Regions from separate parts of the Homo sapiens genome. Here region 1 is linked to region 2. Evidence: promoter capture Hi-C in human tissues and cell types (Jung and others, 2019). All regions are on one chromosome and are shown on one strand. The core of a region is centred on a gene start or on the middle of the fragment in contact, and the rest is flanking DNA. Distances in the headings are between cores, read along the strand shown. Region 1 has its middle 29 kb from the start of TSPEAR. Region 2 holds the start of KRTAP10-6 (keratin associated protein 10-6).

Region 1 (6,451 bases), core at 2,821-5,320, 150 kb after region 2:
TCTTCCAAATGGATGAGGGAAATAAATGATTTCCCCCAAATTGTCTCCCCTCTCAGCCCAGCCCTCATCCATTAAACAGGCAGCCTGCTTCTTCTAACAGCCCACTTGAACAGTGGAGTTTGAATCCAAAGATGGAGGAAGAACCTCAGAGCATGGAAGACAAGAGACTCAGCCTGGGCGTGGCAGGGAGGGCTTCCTGAAAGACAGGGTGCATAAGACAGGTTTTGAAGAAGGGGTTTTGGGGTGGAAAAACAAGGGGGACAGGAGTTTCAGGCAGAGAACATGCTGGTGGATGCCAGAGCATCCAAAAAGGAGAGTGCAGGAGATTCTCAATCAAGATATGCTCGCAAAGGAGCCGACATTCACCAGAAAGCTCATTAGAGGCCTTAAGAGCTCACCACAAACTGTCATGAAGGCAGAACCAGAACCAAATGTTTTCTTTGTTTATGAAAGGCAACATGGCTCTTATGCACCTGGTGGAATGTACAAGTCATGTTTATTTGGGGGCAATCTCTCAGTATTTAAAATGGCAATACCTCTGACCCAGTGATTCCTGTTTGGGACTTTTTTTTTATATATACAGATTTACCTCCACATACATATAACAACATGAGAACCAAAATATTATGGCAGTGCTGTTTAAGAACAGAAGATGGAAACAAATTGGCTGTCAATACAGAGGGGACTGAGTAAAGGTTGGGATGCCAATTCAAGGGACACTATGCAGCCACTCAAATGAAGACGATACATCTGGACATTTTCCATGACACAAGATCCCAGATAGATCATTAAGAGAAGCAAAGATGGCAAACAACCATCTTTCGAAGGATGTATGAATCCAGCAGCTGGCAGAAATGGATTGGAGGAAGTCATCATCACTCTATGCAACTCTAAATCATGTTCCCGCATCGCTACTCAAAATACTCAATCTGAGTCAAGGCCTTGGTCTGGCAAGCACCAGCTAATTGGGCTCTCTGTCCTTCCTGCAGAGACCTCTGAGCAGCAGCTGCCTGGTGTCCTCCACAGGGGTCAGCCTCTGACCTGGGAAACCCTGACGAGCCTTACCTTTCCACTCAGCACACATGAAATCAAGAGGAATACACCATGTTTCCAAGCTTTCTCCTGTCCTGGAGCCAGGAGCCCCAAGTCCCCTGAATGGCATAGGCCCCAAGGCCAGCCAGGCAGCTGTTAGCAGGGGAAAGATGAGTGGGTGCTGGACAGGCCAAAACCATATACATCCCCACAGAGGCAGTGGCAATAATCCCAGTGAGAGAGGAGCAAGAAAGGAGGGACAACTATACCAGACTTAAGAGATGCAAGGGGAGTGAATCGATAGCAACCTTAGAAAAAAGGTCTTCAACCAGGGGCTAGCCCCACTCTCTCAAGGGCATGCAGTCCTCAGAGGATCCAGGCCCAAGAGCTTTAAGAGACATATTATTTTCTTGAAATGTAAAGTGAAAAGTTGGCATTAAAAAAGGGATGTTGAGGCCGCAATAGGGTGCTCTGAAGGTAGAGTGGGTACAGTGGCTGTTATCCTTAACTGCTCCTTTTCTAGCCCCTGCACTTGCCAAAAAACACATTTCTCCTGGGGCAGTCCTGTTCAAGCAATGACAATGTAGGAAGAAAGCAAAGATGGCAGTGTAGATCCCAAGTCCATGTAGGAGACACCTGGGACAAGCTTCAGTGTCCCTCCCTCTGTCCATCCACCTGCCCAGCCATCCATTTATGCATCTATTGCTCCTAGACCTAGGGTATCATGTTACCCAAACAGCATGCTGTGAAATGCCGCTCTGCATCCTCTCTGTTCTGGGCCATGAGAGCTCCACTTCTGCCCCTGCACCTCAGCCCCAAGGTCAGTTGTATATTTGTAGCATCTCAAGGAGGAGGAAGTGGGAAGTTTCACATTTCCTTCTGATGGACCAGTAATAAATCTTTAAGGAAAAGGACACACATCAGAACTCCCTCTCCCTCTCTTTCTTCCTCTCCCCCATCTCTCAGAGCCCAGCTGCCATGTAAAAAAGTCCAGGCTATCCTGCTGGACAGGCCATATGGTACAGAACTAAAGCACAAACTGACTGCCAGCCCTGTGAGGAAGCTTTCTTAAAAGTGACACTCCTTTTAAACACTGCAGATGATGCATCCCCAGCCAACATCTAACTGCAACCTCATAAGATGTTCTGAACAAGAACCACCAACTAAGCTTCTAGTCCCTGACTCCTAGAAACTGTGTGGCATAATACATTTGGCTGTTTTAAGCTACTGTTTGGGGACAGTTTGTTACACAGCAGTAGACTGTAGTGCATACTATAAATCCAGAGTCACTTTGCATTTGGACACAAGTCTTTCTTCTTGCTGCCCAGCTGCTATGTTTCCACTTGTCCATTCGGTCCTATCAGTCCTGACTTGACTTAGATCACATGAACAACAACACAATGCCAATTCTAGCTTAAATAAGACATTTAGCACAGTTTTCAAAATACTCATCCTAAGCTCCAGACTTATTAATGGCCAAGACATTATTATCTCTTTGCTTTTTAATTTCTGCAGGGCTCAGTTTCATTCTATCACAAAATGATGACAGATGCAGGAGGCAGGTAAGTGAGGGTCCCCACAGAATCTCCAGCCCACCCCACAAGTGTTTATATCAGATACTTTTGTGTAGATGAGGGAACCTGCCCAGAGTCTTGTCTGCACATGCTTGCAACGGACTGGGGGCCCCCCTGTGCACTGGGAGAATGGGGTGGAGGCATGGGAAGTGCATGCCTTGTGCAGCGGGGAGGAGCCTGGCCTCTTCGGCTTGTATGTGGTGGCCTGGAATTCAATCTGTGAGGTGCGACCCTGTTGGCAGGACCTCATTTTATTTTTGCCAAGAGCTTTCTTTTAATAAATCTCACCTTTCAACATGTCCACGTGCCTAATTTTTTCCTGGTAATGGGACAAGAACCCAGGTTTTAGCTGAGCTAAGGAGTAAAAATCCTGCATCATTTTGGTGGCCCATACAGGGACACGAGCAAAGGTGAGTAAATGCGGACCAAAACATCTTTTTCCCTTTTGTTTTTGAGCCTATTTGTCCTCAGACTTCTTCTGAAGGTAAAGGAAACAGGCCCCCACCCTTGCCACTCCCAGGGGTCAAGAATGTCGGCCTCGGTCCGACCCAGACTTTCTATGGCATTTTCCTTCATTGTTTGGGACAGATGGGCAAGCGGCAACTCCCCGCCCGCCTGGCCTCCCCTCCCAGCTGGGGCTGGGGTGCATAGCTCAAAGGCTGCATGTGGCAGGCTGGCCAGCATTCCCCACCATATGTCCATGGTGTCTCCTCATTCCATGACTGAGGAGTCCAGCTCCATTCAAGCCCTAGGGAAGAAACAGCAGTAAGTTTCTCTCCCTGTTGGAGGAAACTATTTGTATAAGAATAAGAGGTTCTTTCCCAAGGCATCTTTCCAACCCTGCACTTTAAGCTTTTTTTCTTTTCTCCACCAGGTCAGGAGTTAACTTTTAAGTGAGAGGGTTTTTTTCCCCCTTTTAGAAAGCACTTTAGTAGGCCAGAACCCTAGCTATCACTGTTTTTCTCTGTAAAGTTTTAATTATGAAAAAGGATTTGTAGGCCAGCTGCAGTGGCTCACATCTGTAATCCCTGCACTTTGGGAGGTCGAGGTGGGTGGATCACCTAAGGTCAGGAGTTCAAGACCAGCCTGGCCAACATGATGAAATCCTGTCTCTACTAAAAATACAAAAAATTAGCTGGGCATGGTGGTGCGCACCTGTAATCCCAGCTACTCAGGAGGCTGAGGTAGGAAAATCACTTGAACCCAGAAGGCAGAGGTTGCAGTGAGCTAAGATTGCGCCACTGCACTCCAGCCTGGGCAACAAGAGTAAAAAACTAGGAAGGAAGGAAGGAAGGAAGGAAGGAAGGAGGGAAGGAAGGAAGGAAGGAAGGAAGGAAGGAAGGAAGGGGGAGGGAGGGAGGGAAGGAAAGAAGGAAGGAAAGAAAGAAGGAAAGAGAGAAGAGAGAGAAAGATGAGAGAGAGGAGAGACAGAAAGAAAGGAAGGAAGGAAGGAAGGAAGGAAGGAGGAGGGAGGGAGGGAGGGAAGGAAAGAAGGAAGGAAAGAAAGAAGGAAAGAGAGAAGAGAGAGAAAGATGAGAGAGAGGAGAGACAGAAAGAAAGAAAGGAAGGAAGGAAGGAAGGAAGGAAGGAAGGAAGGAAGGAAGGAAGGAAGGAAAGATTTGTGAGTTGGTCTTAAGCTACAGCCAATCTGGTGTGCTCTGCATGTCTTTCTGTATGGTCAGTAGCAAACTTTGCTGCAGGCCTCCATCTTGTTTTATGTCCTTGGGAGCATGACCTGTAGCGACATGGCAGTGCTTTGGTTTAGCCTTCACCATTTTACAATGGCGGCCCAGGTCCAATCCTGGCTTAGGGAATGAGTTCTTTCTGGTTTGATATCTACATGACCTTTGCCATTTGTTGATTCCCTTCCCCTCCACAAACTGCCTTGGATTTTCCTTTCTCTGAACCTTCAGAAAAGTTTGAAAGCCAGAAATATTGGCCGCTTGGCATGGCTAAAGCTGGGTAATGAGATTTAAAAGGATTTTATTAAAGAGCACTCAGCTTAATTAAAAGTGGATATCCAAGTTACAGGTATATTTAAAAGGCCTTTGTTTTTCTCTTCTTGGATCTTGTTTTGCTGGAAAGAGGTTTTTTCTCAGTCAACTGAATTATTTTTCTCCATTTTGCCTTGCCACTCTTAATGCACACATGAAAGATGAGAGACCTCTGATTTCCTCATGGAGCCCCAGGAATTAGAGGCAGATGGATCCCTCTCAAAATCTGTTTTTGTCTCCCAGCTATATTTGCTTATGAGAGCCTGGAAACTGCATGTTTTCCTAGTCTTGCTCTTAAAGGGCTCCACCCAGAGGCCAACAATCCAATTATGAAAAATATTATAGCTACTGAATCTTCTTCTGCCTGTGTAGTTATATATGTGTTGTGTGTGTGATGTCTATTAAAAAAGAGCTCTAATTAATTGACTTAAGGAAGGATAAGCACTTGGATCAAATATTTTTTAAAGGTAAGATAAAAGCTGTGGTACCTTTTAGCTCACGTGACTTTAGTTTATGGCTTTTCCATAAATTGAGCATTGAAATAAAAGCCCAAAAGGGTTCTCTTAAGACACTAATCTGCTATCTAGCAAAATTTGTAAAGGGTTATAAAAAGTTTTTGCTTCTTAAAAAAATGTCTGAGTCATCATTTTGGTGAAATAAATAACTTATGGAAATCTGGAATTCTATTTCATAACATCAACTCTTTAAACTTCTAACATATTTGACAGGCTTCCCAAAATCAAATTCCTGTTTCAAAAATTGTCTTTCCTGATCCCTGGCTTTTGGATGCCACAGAGGGCCCCTGGAGCACCCAGAAGAGAGGTAAACAGGATTACCTGACACAGTTAGGTACATGGGATTACCAAAATGATCTTTAATATTCCTCAGGTTATATTTTAGGGAATAATATTAATATATGTTCCAAAGTTGTATGGGATTTCTAAAATTCTAATGTCTGAGTATATGCTATCGATCACAATTAAGGTTGTTAAGTTATTGTAAACTATGGAGATAACCAAATGTATTTGTCAGTTGTGTTTCTGACTGTAACTACCCTGGACATTTTGTTATTCATAGACAATTGTTGTCTTGTTTTGATCCTCTTCAAAGGATGGTTTATAATCAGCTACAGAACTTCACCAGGTGCTCTCAAATGCAGGTTTCTAATAATTTTGGAGATTGTGACATTAGAATAAAGGAAAAATGTACCAGACTCATGAAGAGCTGAAATGTTCACAAATAGCAAGTAAAACAAGAGTTAACTGAAAGGACTGAACTAATAGAAAACTGAAGTAATATTTTTTACTTTTGCTTGGAAAATTGCTGATCCTTTTGTTTTTAGAGTCAAGGAAACATTTTGAGCTATTTATGGCCTTTAATAACTAAGTAAGGTATACTACTGTGAACACAATTTGGAACATATTTGTCTCTCTCTCTGCCTGGCTTCTCCGGGATTTGGAAACTAGTTGTAAGTATTCTTAACTTATGACAATATAGTTGTTTGCATCAGTGCAATAAGAATCCATTTTCTTTTGCAACAAGACACAATTGGAGAAACTGGTTGTTTTACCAAGGCTTTGACTAGAAGGGTATGCTCACCTTTAAGGAGTCAAGCTCGATTTGCAGAGCCAACAAAAGACCCTTGGGAAAACTGGCCTCATAACTGGTCTACACAGTCCCCATACAGGGTTCCTAACCTGTGGTGAGTAAAGCATGTCACTTTCTAACAGGTCCAGGAACTCCATGCTATTGGGACCTCAAGAAGAGAGTTGTTTACCCAGCTTACAAGTATTTGAGGGTACAATCTCAGCTTTAGAAAGGCCTATCTGACATTCCTTGTGAAACAGAGTT
Region 2 (6,878 bases), core at 4,152-6,651:
TGTTTGCTGATGATATGATCGTACACCTAGAAAACCCCAAAGATTCCTACAAAAAGCTCCTAGAACTGATAAAAGAATTCAGCAAAGTTTCCAGATGCAAAATTAATGTACACAAATCAGTAGCTCTCCTATACACCAACAGCGACTAAGCTGAGAATCAAATCAAGAACTCAATCCCTTTTACAATAGCTGCAAAAAAATAAAATACTCAGGAATATACCTACCCAAGGAGGTGAAAGACCTCTACAAGGAAAACTACAAAGCACTGCTAAAATAAATCACAGACAACACAAACAAATGGAAACACATCCCATGTTCATGGATGGGTAGAATCAATGTTGTGAAAATGACCATAGTGCCAAAAGCAATTCAATGCAATTCCCATCAAAATACCACCATCATTCATCACAGAGTTACAAAAAAAATTCTATAATTCATATGGAACCAAAAAAGGGCCCGCATAGCCAAAGCAAGACTAAGCAAAAAGAACAAATCCGGAGGCATCACATTACCTGATTTCAAACTATACTATAAGGCCACAGTCACCAAAACAGCATTGGTATAAAAATAGGCACATAGACCAATGGAACAGAATAGAGAACCCAGAAATAAACCCAAATACTTACCGCCGACTGATCTTTGACAAAGCAAACAAAAACATAAAGTGGGGAAAGGACACTCTATTCAACAAATGGTTCTGGGATAATTGGCAAGCCACATATAGGAGAATGAAACTGGATCCTCATCTCTCACCTTATATAAAAATCAACTCAAGATGGATCAAGGACTTAAATCTAAGACCTGAAACTATTAGAATTCTAGAAAATAACATGAAAAATCCCTTCTAGATATTGGCTTAGGCAAGGATTTCATGACCAAGAATCCAAAAGCAAATGCAATAAAAACAGAGATAAATAGCTGGGACTTAATTAAACTAAAGAGCTTTTGCATGGCAAAAGAAACAGTCAGCAGAGTAAACAGACAACCCACACAGTGGGAGAAAATCTTCACAATCTGTACATCTGACAAAGGACTAATATCCAGAACCTACAACAAACTCAAACAAATTATAAAGAAAAAAACCAAACAATCCCATCAAAAAGTGGGCTAAGGACATGAATGGACAATTCTCAAAAGAAGATATACAAATGGCCAACAAACATAGGAAAAAATGCTTAACATCACTAATGATGAAGGAAATGCAAATCAAAACCACAATGGGATACCACCTCACTCCTGCAAGAATGGCCATCATCAAAAAATCAAAAAATAATAGATGCTGGCACAGATGTGGTGAACAGGGAAGACTTCTACACTCCTGGTGGGAATGTAAACTAGTACAACCACTGTGGAATACAGTGTGGAGATTCCTTAAAGAACTAAAAGTAGATCCACCATTTGATCCAGCAAATCCACTACTGGGTATCTACCCGGAGGAAAAGACGTCATTATACAAAAAAGATACTTGCTCACGCATGTTTATAGCAGCACAATTCGCAATTGCAAAAATGTGGAACCAACCCAAATTCCCATCAATCAACGAGTGGATAAAGAAACTTTTATATATATAATATATATATATTTATTTATATATTTATATATATAAACTGATATATATGTGTGTGTATATATGTATATATATGTTATATATATGTATGTGTGTATATATATGTATGTGTGTGTGTATATATATATATGATGGAATACTACTCAGTAATAAAAAGAAATGAATTAATGGCATTCACAGAGACCTGGATGAGATTGGAGATTATTATTCTAAGTGAAGTAACTCAGGAATGGAAAACCAAACATCATATGTTCTCACTCATAAGTGGAAGCTAAGCTATGAGGATACAAAGGCATAAGAATGACACAATGGACTTTGGGGACTGAGAGGGAAAGGGCGGGAAGGGGGTGATGGATAAAAAACTACAAATAGGGTGCAGTGTATACTGCTCGAATGATGGGTGCACCAAAATCTCACAAATCAACACTAAATTACTAATCCATGTAACCAAACACCACCTATTCCCCAATAACCTAAATAAAATATAAAATAAAAATAAAAAATAAAAAACCAAAATAGAATGTCACCACATGTGGGCTCTCACTAAGCATCATGCTTTCAAGGCTCATGCATGTTGTAGCCTGTGTCAGTATTGGATTCCTTTTCATGGCTGAATAATATTCCCCACGGGAATGGGCCACATTTTGCTTGTGTGGATGGGCTGTGTTTTGCTTTGTCCTCTGATGGACATTTAGGCTTCTTCCACTTCTTGGCTGTTGTCAGTCATGCTGTGTACATGGGTACACCAGTCTCTGGCTGCTGTCAGTCATGCTGTGTACATGGGCGCACAAATCTGTGTGTGGACATTTGTTTCATTCCTCTGAGGTAGATGCCTAGAACTGGAGTGGCAGGATCACAGGGTCACTTTGTGAGTGACCATTTTGAGGGACGGTTTTCCAAGGTGCTTTCACTAGGAGTTGAAGCTCTGATGAAGCAGAAGACACATCGAATGAGGACCCAGAGCAGGGGTCAGAGGTGAGACCCCCCCACCAGGAGATGTCCTCCCTGGGGATGGCCAGACAGGCTGGGTCCTGTCGGTGCCTCGGACGAGGGCAGGTGGGGACAATGACAAACATGGAGGAGGTCAGAGAGCCAGCCCCGGCCCCTCCACCTGGCTCTCTGTTCTGACCTTGTAGCCATCAGTGGGCATAGTGAGGTGGGTGGGGCTCAGACACGCATGTGTGGGGAGCCCCTCCCCAGGATGGTCCTGGAGCCCTAGGATGAAGGCTCGGCCCCTGCCAGCTACCCGGAGAACCAGGGCAGGAAGAAAACATCTCTGCCCCTGGAGGCTCTCATTTGTCCCTTCATGGGGACGTGGCTTTGCTTCCAAGGAGGTGGACAAGGCTGTGTCAGTTTGGCCTCCGGCCCTGGGGACGGCTGCTGCTGGCTGTCCTGGGTCTGCCTGGAGGGGAGTGAGCGAGGCGGCTGTGCTGACCACAGGGAGCTCCATGGGGTGGGACTCCGGGAGGTCCTCCTGCTGGTGCTGGTCGCCTCTGGCGTTGACATGCAAGGGTCATTTGCTGGGGCAGGAGGCAGACCTGGGCTCTCAAATGCACACAGCGACCTGGCAGAAAGAGTGCAGCGGCTCGTACCACTCGCCCAACGCGGTATCGTGGACCACGTCTGAGTGCCAGAGCGGAGGGTGGCAGACAGAGCTGAGGGCTATTTGGAGAGACCTAGGAGGCTGGGGGTGTGGGGACAGGGTCCTCGGGGTCAGAGTCCAGGACCACAGGACCAGGAGGGAGCCAGGACCCTGAAAGTCTAGGCGAGGCCGCATGGGGCAGGGGGGCCCGCAGGCTTGGTTAGTGGGTGCCATGGTCCCTGCCCATCTGTGTTCTCGCCAGCGATGCCTGAGCAATGGGTATTCCAGAACCCCACGAATACTGGGCTGCTGGGCTCGAGTCCTGGGGGAGGGCGTGGTCCCCATGTCTTACTGTGGAGGAGATGAGGGCTGCAGGGATGGGCACTGTGGTCCATAGCTGGTCTCCCCAGGGGTAACAGGAGGGGTGAGGCTGCTGGCTGGAGCTAGGCCCCGGGTGGGCTACCCCAGTCCTGGGGGGCAGCCATGAGCTGGGGAGGGTGAATGTGGCTCAGGGGCCCAGAGTGCTGCCAGGGTCCACTTTGTCCCGAAACTCCTGGCCTTGGTTCCAGAGGCAGCTTTCCTAAGATGGGCCGGGGGGCCATGTGCTGGGGTTGGGGGCCCACGGGGCTAAGAGGGAGACTGGCCTTCAGGGTTCACAGAGGCCAGCACCAGAAGGCATTGCTTCCTGCCTCATCCCATGCCCCTCGGGGGTCCACAGACAGGATGAAAAGTCGACAGAGACAGAGGGGTGGAGCCAGGCCTGCTGGGGGTCAGGACTCTCCCTGCAGTCAGGGGTGGCATCACTTCCCACCTCACCCTGTGCCCCCCGGGGGTCCACAGACAGGACAGAGGTTGGTGTGAGACAGAGGCGGCTTTATTAGAACTAGAGGGGGTGCTGCCCAGGGTGGAACCAGGCCTGCTGGGGGTTAGTTCTGCAGAACTTGGGTCTGGGGGAGTAGCTGGGGTCTCTCATGCAGCCAGCATCTGGGAAGGACAGGGGGAGCATCCTGGTCCCTAAGACAAAGAGCCTGCCCCATCTTCTGAGGGTGTCAAAGCCAGAGAGGGCAGAGCTTGCTGGGGCAGCTGGGAGGTCAGCCCCTGGTGGGAAGGGACTCCGGATCACATCCAGGGCTGTCAGCAGCTGGACTTCTGGCCAGAGCAGAGGCTGTAGCAGGCAGGGCGGGAGCACATGGGGCGGCAGAGGAGGGAAACACAGGAGGCCGTGCGGCAGCAGCTGGGCTGGCAGGAGGAGGCAGAGGCACCACAGGAGGGGACGGGCACGCAGCAGGTGGACTTGCACACAGGGTGGCAGAGGAGGGACACGGAGGAGGAGGATCTGCAGCAGGAGGCGGTGCAGCAAGCCGGCTGGCAGCTAGACTGCTGGCAGCATGATGTGGAAGCCCCAGAGCAGACGGGCACACAGCAGGCGTGCTGGCAGGGGGAGGAGGTGCAGCAAGCTGGCTGGCAGCTAGACTGCTGGCAGCATGAAGAGGAATCCTCAGAGCAGGTGGGCACACAGCACACAGGCACGCAGCAGACGGGCACGCAGCAGGCCTGCTGGCAGGGGGAGGAGGTGCAGCAAGTTGGCTGGCAGCTAGACTGCTGGCAGCATGAGGGTGTGCAGGAGCTGGTGCAGCCTGATTGGCAGGGGCTGGGCTCACAGACCGCCTGGCAGCAGGGGCTGGACACACAGCTCACACAGCTAGACTGCTGGCAGCACGAAGAGGAAATCCCAGAGCAGACAGGCTTGCAGCAGACGGGCACACAGCAGGCCTGCTGGCAGGGGGAGGAGGTGCAGCAAGCTGACTGGCAGCTAGACTGCTGGCAGCATGAAGAATCCCCACAGCAGACGGACACACAGCACACAGGCTTGCAGCAGACAGTCTTGCAGCAGACGGGCACGCAGCAGGCCTGCTGGCAGGGGGAGGAGGCACAGCAAGCCAGCTGGCAGCTAGACTGCTGGCAGCACGAGGGCGTGCAGGAGCTGGTGCAGCCTGATTGGCAGGGGCTGGGCTCACAGGTCACTGGGCAGCAGGGGCTGGACACACGGCTCACTGGGGTGCAGACCAGGCTCAGGCAGGGGGCCGGGGCGCAGCAGGGGGGCTCACAGCAGCTCTCTGGGCAGTCGTCCACCTGCCAGGAGTCGGAGCAAGAGTCACAGGAACCAGGAAGGCAGACGCGGCTGCCGTAGCTCAGGTCGCTGGAGCAGACGGACATGGTGGACGCGGCCATGCTGGGGTTGAACTGGTGGAGGGTGAGGGAGTGAGCCTGTGAGGTGCTGAGGCTCTCGGGCTTTTATTCCACCTGGCCTTGTTGTCCCCGGGCCCACAGCTTCCCCTTCCGTGTTGCCGAGAGCTGGAGTCTGCCGGGATTAGGGGTGTTTGTTCGCCCGTGATGTGGGCCAGCTCATAAATCTCCCATCACATCTGGGCTGTGTCCCATCCCATGTGGATCCCTGGCGGCAGGAATTGGGCGGGGCCTGGTCCCAGCTGGGTTCGGGGAGCTGGGAGAGCCACAGGTCGCGGCATCGTCCACCCCTGGCCCCAGCAGCCCCGGGACACAGAGTCCCTCTGCAGGAAGCCGGCCTCAGGAAGTGTCCTTGTGGTGAAAACCCCTCATCCAGCGTGGTCCTTCCCCCATCACCGGACACAGGACTGTGGCCATCTTCTGAGGGACAACCTGGGGCCCATGAGCCTTCATTGACCTGCCCTGGGCCATGGCATGGTGGGGGTGGGGGGCAGCTGTAACTGTGCCCAGACCTCTTGGCTTTGAGCTCTGGACGACTTCTCATCCCCACAGCCTCTTCACCTCCGGCCCTGTTTCGTGTCCACCTCGTCTTTGTGTTTTGGAGGCAGCAGGACCTGTGTGTTCCAGGGCAAGGACGGTGGGCTTGGCCCCTCCCTGCTTGGACAGCATGACAGCCTTCTGGGCTGTGGTTTTGGGTTCTGAACCTGCAGAGTAACCGTGCTGAGCAGCGGGCGGTCAGCAGCCCTCGTCCCCGCCTGGGGTGGCTCCTCTGTGTGCTCTGCTTCTCCGAGGCTGCCCGTCAGCCCCCACCCAGCCTCCTGCTGGGCCCATTTCCCAGCCCTGTCTTCCAAGCCCTGTGCCAGGCCTCTTAGTGTCACCACCTTAAAATTAAGGGACATCTGTCCAAAGAACCCGCACAGAAGACACAAAATGGGTCCATGAGAAGTTGATCTCACTGCAAACCCATTGCCAGTGTAAACGAAACATAAAATCCTAAGCCCCTCAACTGACTAAATGGATCCCATCTTGCCCACGGGGACCCCCGAAAAACTGCGTTCCTGGCCATGACAGGAAGGGAGGTCAGACACGCCTCGTTACACCCCCTCCCTTTAGGGTTTCGACACAACCACTACCCAGCACTAAAGTTAAAATAGAGACCGTAAGACCCACAGAGCAGACTCTGGCAATAAGATATCAAATTACAAACAGGACCTCAGGCCGCGCCAGGCAAGGGACAAGCCGCGTGCCCTACACTGAGAGGACGGACTCTGCTCTCACGCCACAGCTGCTGTTTTTCTACAGTGGCTAAACACGCACTGGCCCCGCGATGAGGATGAGCAAGGTTCAAACGACTGCAGCTCATCCACCAGCAGATGCCAACTGACCACGTTCCACAGCCATGACCACAGCTCTGACTGGGCAGGAGACTGACTTCAGGAACCTCCTCCTGATAAGGGACCCCCAACCATGGACTGGCTCCAG

Evidence for each region. Contacts are between HindIII fragments. The study calls those that stand out against the background at their distance.
Region 1: a fragment that was not itself captured here is called in contact with the fragment with the promoter of KRTAP10-6 in region 2 in 5 of the 25 tissues and cell types used here (dorsolateral prefrontal cortex, lymphoblastoid cells, mesenchymal stem cells and 2 more).

The regions. Positions count from the first base shown.
Region 1 is chr21:44,737,719-44,744,169 of GRCh38, forward strand. No RefSeq gene overlaps it. Among named protein-coding and RNA genes, the nearest start is that of TSPEAR, 29 kb to the left of the region's middle. The HindIII fragment of the contact is 5,348 bases long and covers 1,397-6,451 here.
Region 2 is chr21:44,587,104-44,593,981 of GRCh38, forward strand. It overlaps KRTAP10-6 (keratin associated protein 10-6), which reads right to left and starts at 5,402. Exons shown (of 1, transcript NM_198688.3): 1 at 4,165-5,402. The coding sequence starts at 5,381. The coding sequence ends at 4,284. All of the region lies in intron 1 of TSPEAR (thrombospondin type laminin G domain and EAR repeats), which reads right to left. RefSeq lists enhancers at 2,456-3,276, 4,249-4,996, 4,997-5,742, 5,743-6,489. The HindIII fragment of the contact is 10,619 bases long and covers 1-6,878 here.